Linked DNA regions of Homo sapiens: region 1 is linked to region 2. The links are contacts of gene promoters, found by promoter capture Hi-C in human tissues and cell types (Jung and others, 2019). All regions are on one chromosome and are shown on one strand. The core of a region is centred on a gene start or on the middle of the fragment in contact, and the rest is flanking DNA. Distances in the headings are between cores, read along the strand shown.

Evidence for each region. Contacts are between HindIII fragments. The study calls those that stand out against the background at their distance.
Region 1: a contact is called between a fragment that was not itself captured here and the fragment with the promoter of DPYSL3 in region 2, in 2 of the 25 tissues and cell types used here (IMR-90 fibroblasts and mesenchymal stem cells).

The regions. Positions count from the first base shown.
Region 1 is chr5:147,366,479-147,371,159 of GRCh38, forward strand. It overlaps STK32A (serine/threonine kinase 32A), which reads left to right. Exons shown (of 13, transcript NM_001112724.2): 9 at 4,176-4,292. Among named protein-coding and RNA genes, the nearest start is that of STK32A, 130 kb to the left of the region's middle. The HindIII fragment of the contact is 3,105 bases long and covers 1,325-4,429 here.
Region 2 is chr5:147,507,332-147,512,332 of GRCh38, forward strand. It overlaps DPYSL3 (dihydropyrimidinase like 3), which reads right to left and starts at 2,737. Exons shown (of 14, transcript NM_001197294.2): 1 at 2,147-2,737. The coding sequence starts at 2,527. The HindIII fragment of the contact is 5,398 bases long and covers 110-5,001 here.

The sequences.
Region 1 (4,681 bases), core at 1,627-4,126, 140 kb before region 2:
CTCTTTATATTCAAATTCTATTCATACTTTATCACCTATGACAAAATAGCACTTTCTCTAAAGAAACATTCTCTGACCTCCCTATCTAAAGTGATCCGAATCTCTTCCAAACATTTATTTACTTTATGTATCCTGTGAATCTTTGGAATCTAAGCTTATTAGAAAATATAGAAAACCACGAAAATGAAAGCAAAAATCAGCTGTAGTCTCTAAGGCAAAGAACATTTCCAATTAAGAAATTAAACTCCCTTTGACTTTTAAACCCCATCTTAGCAGTTTGTTGCATTCACTTCCAACTTGTTTCTGTTCTCATAAGGATACTCTATCTTCAGATAGATAGATATAGATAGATGTGTTGTTTTAGCAAAAATAGAAGTATGTTTTACCTTGTTGAGCCTTTTTTTTTTTCATTTCATAAGATAAAATGTACAGCTTTCTAGATCAGAACACCTAAATCTATTTTCTTTTTAAGGATTAAATCTATAGGCATATCAATTTTTATTTTTTATCTCTTGTATATTATTAGGTTGTTAATTCATTAAAGGTAAAGTATGTATCTTATATAGGTTAGTATTATTCACAGTATTTAACTGTTTTTTTTTTCCTCAGGAGAGTCTTGCTCTGTCCCCCAGGCTGGAGTGCAATGGCCCAATCTCGGCTCACTGCAACCACCCCCTCCTCTGTCCAATCAACCCTCCCGCCTGAGCCTCCCAAGTAGCTGGGACTACAGGCATATGCCACCATGCCTGGAAATTTTTTGTATTTTTTGTAGAGTTGGGGTCTTACCATGTTGCCCAGGCTAGTCTTGAACTCCTGGGCTCAAGCAATCCACCTGCCTTGGCCCTGCAAAGTGGTGGGATTACAGGTGTGAGCCGCCGCACCTGGTCACAATATTTAACTTTAAATAGGTATATAATACATGGTTATTTTCACTCACATCCATGTGAAGAGACCACCAAACAGGCTTTGTGTGAGCAACAAGGCTATTTCACCTGGGTTTCAGGTGGGCTGAGTCCGAAAAGAGAATCAGCGAAGGGAGATAGGAGTGGGGCCGTTTTATAAGATTTGGGTAGGTAAAGGAAAAAGGGGGGTTGTTCTCTGGTGGGCAGGGGTGAGGATCACAAGGTGCTCAGCGGGGGACGTTTTGAGCCAGGATGAGCCAGGAGAAGGAATTTCACAAGGTAGTGTCATCAGTTAAGGCAGGAACCGGCCATTTTCACTTCTTTTGTGGTGGAATATCATCAGTTAAGGCAGGAACCAGCCATCTGGATGTGTATGTGCAGGTCACAGGGGATATGATGGCTTAGCTTGGGCTCAGAGGCCTGACAGTTATTGAATGAATGGAGAAACAAATCACTTAGACACCTTCTAGGAAAAAATGACCAACTATGCTACCTGCAATTACGTTTCAAAATGTAGCTTATCTGAAGAAAAGGAAGTAACATTTAATTACAAGCATCAATACAACTCAAGCACAGAGGAAGTGTGCTAAACAATTTCCTCCATACGTACAAATTTTTATTTACAGAAAAGTATATGTCTTAATGAGAAAATGTGCTCGAAAACATTCTCATCATTTCTGAGTTTGGTTTCAGTCTTAATGAATGTGTCCCTTAACTATTAATCTGCTTTGTCATCTCTCTAACTCCCTACTATCTCATTGCCATTGCAAAGGCAAAGGTCCACATCTTTTATAGTTTCATATTATCCAAAAGTGTTAACTTAGGATAGATGTGTACATAGTTTTGTACTCATTGTACATGCTTAGCTGCAATTCTTTTGCCTTTGCACTTCTGAAATACAACCATATTCACAACACATCATTTGTTCCCTTATAACATTTCACCTTTTCCACTTTGTTTATTCTCTATATGCTCACTGTTAGTTTAGATGCTGCCTTAGGCTTTTATGATATATACTGTGACTGCATACTGTAATTTTTCTCTATAGCATGTATCCCATTTATTTAAGTGTGTGTGTGTGTGTGTATACAGTCTATATAATAAATTTACATGCTTCCTTAAGTAGACTGTAGGCCCCACCAACATAGAAACCATATGTGTCTTGTTCTTCATTGTACCCTCAATGCCTAAGAAAGGTGCTGGAACATGGTAGGCATTCAATAAATAATTGGTAAATAAATAAATATACAATTCTGGTAGTTGATTAATTCAAATTAATTTTAAAATTTAGAACTGTAAAAGTAAATTAAAAAATAAGATAAAGACAATGTGATTATTTTTTAATAAACCAACAGGTCATGGAGATTTTAAAAATTAAATTCAGTCATATGGCCTTGTAAAGTAACTAGAGAAAAATGTACACACTTAAACCAGCTGCTTGTGGCATTCATCAGTTAATTCATTTGTTTATAAAATCATTTTATTTTCTAGGTGGCCCAGAAACAGTAGGTTGAGAAGCAGCAATGAATTAAAATCAAGAAGAAACACAGAAAAAAGTAAAAACACATGTGCATACACATATAAGCCTAGAAGCTTGAGTATACTAAGCCTAATCTGATTCTTAATGATAAACATGGTCTGAATCATATGGAGTAACCTAACCCTTTGGCTACTAAATTACCAATAAACATTGATAATGGTGATAAAGCATCTAGCACTCCTTTACTGATATTGAGTTAATGAGTTATTTCTACTATATAATTACCAAGACATATGATATAGCTATGGTCCTTTATTTAGTGTTGAGGGGGTAAATATGGCAGTTGTTTTTAGATCTTACTTAAAAAGCAAAAATGTTTGAATTAATCTCCCTTTCAAGGGCCACCTCCTGGCACTTCATGGTTCCATGAATAGCTGACATTGACTTGCCATGTGTAAAATTAAGCTTTTCTTCCCATCACTTTTCTTGAGGACTCATTTTGCTGTTCACTATTCATTCACATTTACATATGCCCATTTTTACCTTTGTGTCAATAATGATAAAAATCTCTCTCTTATATTGTGTCTAATACTATTAGCCACTCACTCTGTTGAGAAATTTACACATATTATCTCCTTTAATTTTTCCAGCAATCTCATGAGGTAGCTCATTTTACAGATGAAGTAACAAGCTCAGAAATTGAGTGGAGAAGTTTAGCACCAAATCCTTTTAACCTCAAACACATGATTATTTTATATTACCTCTTAACACTGATTTACTACAGGGAAAAACTTAAACCCTTTCATTTCCCCCAATTTAGGTCATCCATCAACAGTCATTTATTAAATATCTTAAAAGGGCCAGGCATGTGATCAATGTGTATATCCATATTAACTGTGCTGTGGCTAGTTAATCGAATATGGAAATTTTGTTCATTAAATAAACATGTATTGTGCACCTACTGAATGCTTGGTCTCATGAACAAGAATGATATAATCTCTGGCTGTGAGTATCTTACAGTTCACATAAGAGACATGAAATTTCAGTGTTGGTGAGTCCCCTACAAAATAATATAGATAAAGGCTGTCCTCTAGTGTAAAGCTGTGAAAACTACAGCTAATCCACAGTTTTCTTTTGTTTAATTTCTTTTCTTTTTAAATTACTTTTCTTCAAAATTAAAACTGTAGAAGAACCTGGTTCTTCCCCCAAAATTTTTTTTAAAAGCTTCTGCCTCATCACAAAATTCTCCACCCTGCCATACTCTGTGGAACCAGGGACTCATAGCATTTGTGGGACTGGAGTTGATGTTTTCTGAGCAGTTTTCTGTCCTGAGCTTCCTCATTATGTTGCAGTGAAAGGGATGGTATGGTAAAATTCTGGATTTACTTGCAATCAACCCTTACATAATAATTTTTTAGACTTCCATTTATTGAGGACTTGTCCAGTATTTCGTGTTAATACTTATATAATACCTTATAAAACAATTTCAAATCAGCATCTCAGAGGCTGATTCAGTCCACTTGAATGTTTTGTTTGGCTCAGTGGAGTGTTCAACTTTAAAATTTATGGTATTTTAGAAGCGACCATAAATTCCTAGTGTCTCTTTAAGAAAAAGTAGGGGGTCTGGCAACACAGGACCACCTACACATATGGCAACGCAAGAGTCAGCTGGACAGGGTTAGAAATTGATATAGATATTTTATCGGTTGAAAGTTTAGCTTGGAAACATTTGGAAATTTTTTTTTTCTTTTGTCCTATACAAATGAAGACTTTTACTTCTTTTCTCCCTTAAGAGACCGTATCATATTCGCTCCAGTACTTCCAGCAAGGAAATTGTACACACGTTTGAGACGACTGTTGTAACTTACCCTTCTGCCTGGTCACAGGAAATGGTGTCACTTCTTAAAAAGGTAAGAAGGAAGACTGCATGTCCAAACGAAGTAACAAAAGGAAGCAGGCTCTCTGGCTTAAGTTTAGAAGTTAGTATACAATATTGGGGACAGTCATGATAGTATACATTTGTAGAGTGTATTTTCTAGCTGTTAGCTTTCAAATACATGGCTTCATTAACTCAACTCAGATTCCCCTTGGATGTCCCAAAGCCATCTTAAACTCAAAGGACTTCTTTATCTTTGTCTTTCCTGAATATCTTCTCAGGAAATTCTCTCAGTGACTGGCTTCTCTATCCAAATCCACTTACGCCAGCCAGCAACCAGGACTCATTTGTCATCTGCGTATTCAATTCATCACCAGGTTCTGAAATTTTATATTTTAAGTATTAAAATATTTCACTTCTCTC
Region 2 (5,001 bases), core at 1,487-3,986:
TTTGGGCTTAATTTTTTTTTTTTTTTAAGTAAAGTTGTCCAAAAAGTTGCTTCATGAGGTAGTGAGCTCCCTGACAATGGTTGTATTTAAGCAGAGGCCAGATGATCATTTTGCCAGCTATGTGGCAAAACAGATGGTTTAATTAAGGAGGTTTAGTGTATCAAACATTTATTGAGCACCTCCAATGTGCCAAGCATTCTAGCCACATAGATAAATCCAAATACACAATCTCTACCCTCAAGGAAATAAACAACAAGTTCAGAACTTGATAACCTCCGTGGTCTCTTCTAACAGTGTGATTCAACCAAATTAGAGATAATAACATGGCCTGGATGAAGCAGATGGCAAGCCCAAACTTACAAATGACTATGTAGCACTAGAAATCCTGCTGATGCCTAGGTTGTATTATTATTTCTCAATTAGTAGCCAAAAGTATAGGGTTTGCAAAAGGGAGGAAAACGGGAGAATTGCTAGGTTTAAAGGAGGAATATTTTCCCTTTCTCTAGTTACCATTCTTAAATCTTGCAAACCCAGCATATTATCTGGCTTACATCAGGGGTGTTTCAGCAAAGGGAATAGCACTGACTCACAGCAATTGTTACCGACCTTTTCCATCACTACTCCCGCCCGTTCCAGTCAGGAAGGGAACATTTCAATATGGACAAGTCAGACATGAAGAAAGGAATAACCTTTCTATAGGGTTCTTCTTCAGTTTAGATATCAACCAAAACATTTGCAAAATATCAGAAGTTTTCCCTAAAACGTTGGTAAGCAAGGGCTTAGGGGAATCACGCACTAAAAGGATGATGTGAAAATCACAAACTAAATGAATGATTTCAGAGGAAGCCGACATTGTTTTCCAAGTGGTACCCTTGAACAGCACTAACTTCAGCACTTATTTTCCCTGGTGGTCTTAGTAGTCAAAGGTTGGTTGGTTGGTTTGTCTAAACTTTCAAAAATCAAACAGTGAACAGAGATGCTGTTCTTTCACTAGCTCATTGCATTTTAATGGAAAAACAACTAAAACCTGAATAAGCATTAACTGTAATTGCTCTGAGGCAGACATTTCCATTTCAGGTTGTTATTCCTAACCATATTAGTGCAGAATAATACATGCGGATGGATTTTGCGGCCATTACCTAGACAAGGGTGAGGGCATCTGATTATTATTATTCCCCAACTGAAAGCTTCAGTTTGAACTCTGAAGTCTCCAGCCCTGCCAGGCCCTGCATTTTCTGAACTACATCTCTGAGTCTCTGTGAAATAGACACATAAATCAGGGCAAGCTAGATTTCAATGCCATCCCTTCAGTCAGTTCAGTGTGACATAAGTTTCTCAAAAATACACATACAGAAGAAATTGGCTTTGGCACATTTAAGAGCAGCAGGGAATTTGCATCTCATGCTAGTTTAATGTGCACTCTTAATACTCTCGTCTATTTTCTAAAATATAATGCTATTCTTGCAGAGGCAGCTGGACCCCTGTAATACCCAGTCTTGTGCCAAGCTATGTACACAAATACACTCTTTACAAACACAGATGTGAAATGCCGTGCTAAGACACAAGCGAGGCATAGAGAGAGATTCGCGTGTTTAGTCTAGAGGCTCCACACCCAAAAGTTTCAGGGACAGAGCTGATGTTTGAAGACTGAGAGGGGAGACCGCCCCTCCAGTACTTTCATCCGGGCACTATGGAGATGACCCCCATATTCCCAGCATCACTTTGCCCTCTGCCGTGGTGACCCGGGTTGAGATTTAATCTAGGGCCAGAGGGGGGCAAGACAATTGTGCTGTTGGCTACTAGAGAGAAGAGCTGGAAATCACTAAGCCTTCCCGGGCTGACACACCCACCCAGACCGGATGGCCCAGGAGTGCGGCGAGGAGGCAGGGGCAAAGGACGCGGCTCCAGGCAGGGGAACCCGGGCATCCCTTCCGCGCTTGCACGAAGATGCTGCAAGTGGCGACACGCGCGAATCCAGGGTCTGGGCTAGGAAGTCGCGCTACGCTCAGTGGAGGATGACCCTTTCCTCCTCCTTGTCCCCCAGCCCCGTGCAAAGTGAGCTGGAGAAAGTTGTGCCCGGGCCATGGCGGCCAGGGCTGGAGAAAGGAACGAAGGCAAGGAGGGAAGTGACCCGGGGCCCCCTTACCTTGTCCTTGGGGCCGAGGTTCTGCAACACCTCTTTGCCGGTGGCGCTCCGGATCTCTACCCCGGCGGGGGCGGGGGAGGCGGGCGCGGGCTCCCTGCTCTCTTCCCGGCCTTGGCCCCTGCGCGGGGTGTCCCCCTCGATCCCGGGCCGACTCCCCGATCCTCGGTCGCTGCCCTGGCCGCTCCGAGGAGTCTTCGCGCCCCGCTGCCCCACGCTGAGGGCATCGAAATCCAGCGTCTTGCTCTCGAAGGCGCCCTCCACGTTGCAGAACATGCCGCCGTATTTCTGCCGCGGGACCTGGTCCGTGGTGCCCGGCCTGGCCAGGTACACGGGCAGATCGTCTTCGTGGGAGCTGTCCCAGCCCCTCCGGCCCGAGGCCATGGTTCAAGCACGAAAGCGGCCCGCGGGTTTTTCTTCCCCAGAGGCGGAAAGGGCAGCCGCCGGCAGCGTGCGCCGAGCCACAGTGACTGTGGCGGGAGGAGGCGCCTGAGCCTTCGCGCCAGAGGCGGCAGTGCTGCTCCGATTCCTGCTTGTCCCTAGCGAGCCAGCGAGCCACACAGCCAGCTAGCGCGCGGAGCAGGGGCCCAGAGTAGCGCCGCGCTTGGCTCACTCGCTGGACCTCTCGCCCGGCCGCACCTCCTCACGCACCCCCAACCCTAACGTGGCCTCCCGGGCTGACGCAGCGTCGGTGCCCATCACAATCACAAACCAAACTTGGCGCGCGCGCACACGCACACACAGGCGCACACTGCCCGCTCGCGCAACAGCCTTGCCTCACACACTTTCGCGCAATTTAGACGTCTTAGAAATGTTCACACTCCAGCACTTGACTGCTTCACCCACACTAACTCCCTAGTTTGCCTCACAAACACAAAGCTTTCTGACGTCCCTCGTGCACAAAAACCCAGCTGACCCAGGTGGATTCATCTCAAAGCCAAGTCCTGATTTACAACTAACACATACAAACTCAAATTTACGACAGACTCACAATCCTACCCGGAACCCCGGACTTGCCTCATCCTGATCTTTAGGATGACACTCATAACTACACCCAGTTCTAGAATCTGCCTTGCAAACCCACACTCTCACATGAAGTCCTGAATTGGCTTACACACACAACACAAACACACACTGAGAGAGAAGCCCTCTTACTTCATTGAGAGTCACAAAAGCCCTTTGGCTCACATAAGCCCTTTCTTAGCTTCTATATAATATCCTAGTTTGCTTTTTACCACCCCTAATTTGCCTCATTTCAGATCACACACACACACACACACACACACACACATTCTTAGGTTTTGCCTTGCAAAGCACTCTTCATTGATGCTCTGTCCCTCATACAACAAACCCCAGATTTTAATCTCACACACTGACACAAGTCCAGGTTTACCTCAGTCGGAACCGACACTTAGATTCACACCTAAGCCCAGATTTACTTCAAAAATCACACAACCAAAGACTTTGCTTTTCATGTTACCTCAGATGTATGCAGACTTTACTTATGTACATCTGTGCTTTCATAACCTCATTCTCTTCCCCACGTCCACCCACGTATACTCTGACGCCGACTCTGCCACATAAACAGAACCTGCAAACTACATACCTTACATCATATCTGCACACACCACCTAAACCCAAAACCTGTTGTGCCGGATTTAACTGTGCTCCCTCTCAGAAAGTCACCCATTTATTTATTTAGTCAACCAACATAAATCAGGTACCCACTATGGCTTTCACAAGATGCTGGAGCAACAGTGTCGAACAAGAGAGATCGGCCTGTCCTCACCAAGAATGTAGTCTATTACCACCCATCTAGGTAGCACAGCCGTTCACTGTTCTGCTCAACTTACAGAACTTTGTTTATTTTGTGAACTAAACACTCCCCCTCCCAAGTATGGACACATACATGCTAAGCTCCATAAAGGCAGAGATCTGGTCTGTTCAGTTCACCTTTGTATATCTTGTGCCCAGAACATCTACAGGCACTTGATACATTCTTTTTGAACAAATGGAGGATAACAATAACAACGACAGCAGCACCAGAAAATGTTTATGGAGTTATTGCTATGTGCCAGTCATTATTATAATTGTTTCACATATATTAACTCATTTAATGCTCATAAGCATATGGCCGGCTTCTTTGTGCGCATAGACATACTCTTTGAAGGCATCCACATAGAATTTGATGAAATTAACCTTTGAACTCTGATTTTGGAGTGGAACAAAGGCTCCGGAAACTGGAATGTCAGTCTCAGGTCTGTGACAGCCACAAAATATTGAGGAATGGAAGTTGGCCTGAACTTAGATCAAAGACAGGTATGTTGACACAATTTAAACCTATCCCCTGGCCAGGCGCAGTGGCTCACACCTGTAATCCCAACACTTTGGGAGGCTGAAGCAGGTAGATCACCTCAGGTCAGGAGTTCAAGATCAGCCTGGCCAACATGGTGAAACCCAATCTCTACTAAAAATGTAAAAAATAGCCGGGCGTGGTGGCACCCGCCTGTAGTCCCACCTACTTGGGAGGAGGCTGAGGCAGGAGAATTGCTTGAACTCAGGAGGTGGAGGTTGCAGTGAGCAGAGATTGCGGCACTGGGCTCAAGCCTAGGCGACAGAGCAAAATTCCACACAAAACAACAACAACAACAACAACCCAATCCCCAGTGAAGAGAAAGCCACTTGCTAAACTGCCTGTGCTCTATCAGAATTATTTATGACTTCTTAAGCTGACTTCCTTTGGGCAGCTGCTCCTTCTTAACAAATGCTGGTTGGTGATGGACTCAGAATTTCCTGTGAGTGCTGCTTCAGAACAATTACAGTTAAGGGTTATCCAGGTTTTATTAGTTTCAGGCTCT